2 separate regions of the Homo sapiens genome follow, and region 2 is linked to region 1. Evidence: promoter capture Hi-C in 16 types of primary human blood cells and fetal thymus (Javierre and others, 2016). All regions are on one chromosome and are shown on one strand. Each heading gives the region's core, a stretch centred on a gene start or on the middle of the fragment in contact. The rest is flanking DNA. Distances are from core to core; before and after follow the strand shown.

The links. The method cuts DNA at HindIII sites, captures the fragments that hold promoters and counts their contacts. A CHiCAGO score of 5 or more calls a contact.
Region 2: a contact is called between a fragment that was not itself captured here and the fragment with the promoter of DAP in region 1, in 1 of 17 cell types (M1 macrophages). The highest score is 7.0, in M1 macrophages.

What each region holds. Positions count from the first base shown.
Region 1 is chr5:10,759,437-10,762,754 of GRCh38, reverse strand. DAP (death associated protein) reads left to right here and starts at 1,521. Exons shown (of 4, transcript NM_004394.3): 1 at 1,521-1,741. The coding sequence starts at 1,687. It overlaps DAP-DT (DAP divergent transcript), which reads right to left and starts at 1,719. Exons shown (of 3, transcript NR_187555.1): 1 at 1,539-1,719. RefSeq lists silencers at 986-1,455, 1,536-1,965 and an enhancer at 618-1,463. The HindIII fragment of the contact is 9,246 bases long and covers 1-3,318 here.
Region 2 is chr5:11,184,727-11,187,977 of GRCh38, reverse strand. All of the region lies in intron 11 of CTNND2 (catenin delta 2), which reads left to right. Among named protein-coding and RNA genes, the nearest start is that of CTD-2154B17.1, 400 kb to the right of the region's middle. The HindIII fragment of the contact is 1,509 bases long and covers 813-2,321 here.

The sequences.
Region 1 (3,318 bases), core at 272-2,771:
AAGTAGAAAATGACCATTGGATCTGGCAGCACATAGGTTATAAGTGACTTCCACAAAAGGACCTCCCATGGTTGAGGGCAGTGCAGCAGAACTTGATGAAAACCAGACAAACTGGACTGGAGGGAGTGACAAGAGATGAGGAGCTCAGCCTCCCTGAACAGTTTTGTTGTCAAAGGGAAAAGTACAGCCAAGCGAGGGGTGGTGTTTCCTTCGCTAAAGAGATTAGGCCTGTCTGAATGCGAATCCAGCAAGGCATTGCGGAAGTTAACAGCAGTTGCAAAACACTGGGGCAGGCGGGAAGAACACGATCCAAGGCACGAGAGCCAGGGGTCAGCCACGGCAACAGGAAGATGATGGTGAAAACCAAAAGTTTCTGAGAGTGGTCTCAATTTAGGAAGTTTATTTTGCCAAGGTTAAGGACGTGCATTGACACAACCTCAGGAGGTTCTGATGACATGTGCCCAGGGTGGCCAGGAAACATCTTGGTTTTATACATTTGAGGGAGACATGAGACATCAATCAATACGTAAGATGTAGGTTGGCTCTTTAGGAGGTAAAATGTGAAGTGGAGGCGTCCGGGTCATAGGTACATTTAAAGGTTTTCTGATTGGCAACTGGTTGAGAGTTATCATCTAAAGACCTGGACTCAGTAGAAGGGAATGTCCGGGTTGCATGAAGGAGTTGTGGAGACCAAGGTGTTATCATGCAGATGAAGCCGGGAATACACTGCAAATGTTTCTTATCAGAGTCCTCTATTAGTCTTAGGGTCTCCGTGCGGATGTTTGTGAGGCCATGTTTGACTTCCGCTTCCCATCAAGGCCTGAACTAGTTTTTCAAGATAACTTAGAAGGCCACAGGCGGAGGGGAGGGTCCATCCGTTGGCTGCAGGGCTTAGAATTTTATTTTTGGTTCATAACGAGGAGGGCAGGGACAGAAGCCACCGTCTCTGCTCCCCAGCGCTGGCCCTCACTCGGAAAGCAGGCTCTCCCCTCGCATCGTCTTTTAACAAATTCCTGCTCTCTCGGCCCCCGTCGCTGCCATCTGGGCTCTCCTTTCCGCGCTTCATTAGGCGCTGCCGCGGCAGGGGCTGAGGGCCTCAGGGGACGGTCGCCTCCCTGCCGGGACGCCCCGGCCCTGGCCCGCACTGTGGGGCGCAGTCACCCAGCCGTCGCCGCGTAGCCAGGAGCCCGGCTGAGCGCGTTCGCTGCAGGAGCCATCCTCAGCTGGGCCCTACTTAACTTTCCGCAACTCCAGTCCCCGCAGCCAGTCGGGGACCCCGCCTCCCTCTCCTTCCTTCTCCCTCTCACTTCTTCACCCCTTCTCTCCCCTCCCTCCTCCGCCCCCGCCCCCGCCCCCGCCCCCGCCCCCGGCCACAGCATCCGACGTGGCGCGGCCGGCTGCGCACGCACCGTATGCTTGGCTCGCGGCCCAGCAGGGCGGGCGGGCCGCGGTGACGTCAGTGCGCATGCCGTCGGTGGGCTCGGCTGCGCCACGTCGGCGCGCGGCGGCCGCGCCCCCTTAACGGCAGTGGCACTCACCCGGCTCGCGCGGCCCCGGCGCCCCACGCGCGCGCGTCGTTCTCCCGCCCGCTCGCTCCCCGGCGCTCACACCTGAGCTCACTCGCGCACGCCCGCCCGGCCCGAGAACCGCGCCGCCGCCTCGGCCCCGCGGAAGCCCCGCCGCGTCATGTCTTCGCCTCCCGAAGGGAAACTAGAGACTAAAGCTGGACACCCGCCCGCCGGTACTGACTCTTTTCCTCTCTCTCCACGCGCGGGTGCCGGGGGCGGGCTCGAACCCGGGGGCGCCGGGCGGGGGCTCCGCGGGGAGGGCCCCGGCGAGCGCTGAGACGGGTTCCGGGCCTTGATGCCCGCCCGAGGGGCGCGGGCCGCGGAGAGGTCGGGCGCCCAGGCCCGGGAGGAGCCCGCCGGAGCTTCGGCCCCGCTTGCCGGCGGCGGCGAAGCGTTTCTTCCTGAGGACCGCGGGCGGCCGCGTACCTGTGCGATTGCGCGCAGGCTCCGGTGCCTTGGGCGAACCCAGTTGCACAACTTATAACAAAGTTTTGGCGGATAATATTTACTTAGAGGATACAGATGTCTAGAAAGAAAGTAGCAGAAGCAATGAAAAGTCAGTGGTGTTAATATCATGGTGATGATTAATTAGAGGCTGCCAGCGTTTCATACCGACTCAAGAACCAAGGAGCGGAAATAATTTTTATCATTAATCACTCAATATGACTTTCACCGCCAGTTTCTTCCACATCCAGATTTTTTTTTTCCCCCAAAGTTGCTTTTTCTGATTTTGAGCAAATCCTAAACTTCTGAGCCAAGGAAGTTAAAGCCAGGAAAGAGCGGTCTTTCTTAGAACATAGGGATCTAAGCAGCCTTCATGCTTCTGCCACCTCCTCCTCTCTCTGGGCACAGTTCCTGTTTGCACTTTGGATTCTGTCCAGACGGGTCTGTTTCCGTTTCTACTCTCCTTTCCAGTGGCAGTCGGCCCATATGGAGGGACACTGGTGAGAAGATCAAAGGCCTTGGGTCTCAGAAGCCAAGTCACTTCAATGTATGGATGCGTGAGGTTCTTTTAGGTCTTAATAGCACGCCTTAGTGTCATAAACTCAGTCTTGTAGGAACAGAAGTCTTTGAGAAACATGGCTTCTTTTGGTGGCACATTTGCGCCATTTTCTTGACAATAAAGATTCCTGGCCAGGCGCGGTGGCTCATGCCTGTAACCCCAGCAGTTTGGGAGGCCAAGGAGGGTGGATCACTTGAGGTCAGGAGTTCAAGACTAGCCTGGATAACATGGTGAAACCCCATCTCTACTAAAAGTAGAAAAATTAGCTGGGCATGGTGGCGGGCGCCTGTAATCCCAGCTATTCAGGAGGCCGAGGCAGGAGAATGGCTTGAACCCGGGAGGCAGAAGTTGTAGTGAGCCAAGATTGAGCCAAAGCACTCCAGCCTTGGCGACAAAGCGAGCGAGACTCCATCTCAAAAAAAAAAAAAAAAAAAAAAAAGATTCCCATTATCCTTCTCTGCTGTCCTCCGCTATAGGGCGGGAATTCTCTGCACCAGCACAATGAATAGGAGCCGTTCTTTAAATATGTTGCAGTCCAGAGTAGGCAATATTTTTCAGTGGTGACGGAGGCTCTCTACAACAAAACTAACTGGCACTGGGAAAGAAAAATGTCTAACTGATGCCAGAGAACTTAAGAGGCATGGGGTTTTAGAAAATCATTCCACTGTGATGGAAAATGGTTTTGGGGGAATTTGTGTTGCATTGGTTTTAAGAAAAAAAGTACTTCAAAGGGAGTTTTTTTTTTGA
Region 2 (3,251 bases), core at 318-2,817, 430 kb before region 1:
TTCTCCGCAGCCTCGCCAGCATCTGTTGTTTCTTGACTTTTTAATAATCACCATTCTAACTGGTATGAGAAGGTGTCTCATTGTGGTTTTGATGTGCATTTCTCTAGTGATCAGTGATGTTGAGCTTTTTTCATAGGTTTGTTGGCTGCATGAATGTCTTCTTTTGAGAAGTGTCTGTTCATGTACTTTGCCCACTTTTTAATGGGGTTGGTTTTTTTCTTATAAATGTGTTTAAGTATTTTTGTAAACTCTGGATACTAGACCTTTGCAGATAGATAGACTGCAAAAATTTTCTCCCATTCTGTAGGTTGCCTGTTCACTCTGATGATAGTTTCTTTTGCTGTGCAGAAGCTCTTTAGCTTAATTAGATCCCATTTGTCAATTTTTGCTTTTGTGGCAATTGCTTTTGATGTATTCGTCATGAAATCTTTACCCGTGCCTATGTCCTGAATGGTATTGCCTAGGTTTTCTTCTAGGGTTTTTTATAGTTTTGGGTTTTACATTTAAGTCTTTAATCCATCCTGAGTTAATTTTTGTGTAAGGTGTAAGGAAGCGGTCCAGTTTCAATTTTCTGCATATGTCTAGCCAGTTCTCCCAGCACCATTTATTAAATAGGGAGTCCTTTCCCTGTTGCTTGTTTTTGTTAGGTTTGTCAAAGATCAGATGGTTGTAGATGTGCAGTCTTCTTTCTGAGTTCTCTATTCTGTCCCATTTGTCTCTGTTTCTCATAAACAGTCTTTTTAAGGGAGTTGTAGTTAGTTGTGCTATGGTAAGATTAGACTGCTAACATTTATATATGGGTAAGTCAAGCTTAATACCCCTTCTTTATTACCTTTGTCACAGAGTAGGACTTTGCAGATGCCTCTAGAGCCAATATGTCACATTATTTCCTGTGTTTTACATTCTTATTGTTGTCCAATGTGCCTAACCTGAGAATCCAGGTATTCTCTGCATTTCTTTCTTGTGGACCAAGAAGAGATAAGCATACATTTACGAACACCCACACTTACCGGTCATAGTGCTACGTACCGTCCAGTCTATCATTGCCTTGAATACTCCTGAGGTCCTGTGAGGTTGGATGTAAGGGGCATGCTTAAAGTCACAGCTGGTCTGTGGTACTAGTGTAGTCCTTGATTTCCAAAGCCAGTCTGCTTTACACCAGTGATTTTCCAGTTTCTCCAATCATAAGAGTTTCTTTGGAGGCACTTGATAAAACAATACATATTTCTGGACCCTAGATTTTCACGATAATAGCTTGGGAATCCACACATTTAGCAATACCCTCTCGAGGTTCTTAGGATCATGCATGTTTGAGAAACACCACTTTCTACTTTAACAGGACCAACAATTACAGTGGACTGCAGAGGGGTGGAGGATTAGGAGACATGGATGTGTTTTGAGAGACGCCAAAATAATTTGACGCTAATGGTAACTACACTATCCAATGAAAATATATGGCCCGTTTATCACTTTTTTCAAATTAGAATGAATTTGAGGTTACCTCATATTACAGTGTGCTTCCTCAAGTGAGAGAGAAAATAAGTGGAATCGCTTCCACTGGATATAGAAGAAATTTCCTGTATCCCCCTCTGACTTACAGCCAGCAGTAAGCAACTGTTACTGATGGCAGTGTTAACTGGGGTGGAGCTTGCATATATTATAGTCCTTTACTTCCCTATGAAACCTTGTGAAGTTTCATCAGAACCTTCTGTACACCGATCAGAGAGTGTTTTGTGAGCATGATCCATTTTACATTCTGCAGCAGTAAAATGTTGGATGTTCTTGAACCGTCTGAAGTTGCCTTCAGTTTTCACCTCCGTGATCATTAGGGCTGGTGACGTGAGATGTATCTGTGCTTATCTCTAATTACATTTCAGAGCATGCCAAAATTGTATAAAGGCTTAAAGGAAAGTTTTTCTGGGTCTTTGTGCTTTGTTTTGTATTTGCCGAGATTGAAATGTACAGCGCATTTCCATTTGTTAGGTCTGACAATGCATAACTGATTTGTGGCTTTACTTTGCAACTCACGAGTTACAAGTTAATTAGAAACACTTTTCCCTAATTATATTTGAGAGTTTGCTCTATTTGCTCTACAATTATCACAAAAATTACATTAACTAGTGTTAACGAACACAACATAGCAATCCCCACTGGATCCTGGAGGAGAACACCAAATTATATAACGTCTACATCCCTTGCCCAACACCTGGTTTCCTTTCCAACAGATGTTTTTGTTTGTCATTCCTGATGAAACGTTTGAAATAAACTTCCTTTTTGGTTATCCGTTAGAGGATGAAACTCAGCCTAGAGGAGGAGAAGCTTCAGTTTTGCACATGCAAAACTCTTTTCACTTAGCAACTCGCTCTTCCATCATGACGGCTGTTGTCGTTGCCATCATGGCAGCTGTGTACATCAACTGTGTGCCATCCCCAGGGAATGCCCAGAAGAAGAATCTCTGTGAAGTGGTTTCCTAAAATAGGAGCCTGTATCATGAGGCCTGTAATCCCAGAGAAGTCAGGAAATGGGACTGCTTAGAAGGTGACCTTCTTGTCTTCCTTCTTTCTTCTCCAGTTCACAATAGATGCCTGAGCAGCACTACAAGGTTGCTCAGTCAGGGTAGACAAGAGCATATGGAAATGATGTAGATGTGAGCTCTGTTCTCCAGGAGCAGTCCACTGAGTTAGGGAGAGGGAGATAGAGAACTGTTCTATAAGAAAAGCATGGAGAGAGGGCCAGAGGAGCTTAGAGGAGGAAAGAGAAACTTCAGTTGAAGAGATCAAGGAAGACTTTATGAAGAAAGCAACATTTGAAATGGGTTTTAAAGATGCATATGGGTTTGGCGTGCAGGTAATGGGAGCAGGAGAATAAAACATGGGCCACGAAGGTTACAGGGGCAAACTCTCTTTGCATGCTTCTTTAATAAGAATGGATTGAGAACTGAGTCATCCGTGTGCATGCAGGGGTGGGCATGTGTGTTCTTGCACACCTGCTCAGACTAAGGCACAAGCACTCCTGCGCAAAGCAGCTTCCTTCTGCATATCTGCTTGCCACTCTCCTTGCATTGAGTCCGAGTGCTGCGGGTTCAAACAGTCTGGTCTTCTCCTTCCATCCATATTTGCCTTTTAATCTACAATTCTTCTAGAAGTTAAGGGCCTTTGGGTGGAAGGAATAATGAGGAACGTGCTTGATAAGTTTCTACATAACTTGATTCACTTCACACAAAAATTGCTAGGGACACACCCAGAGTCAGC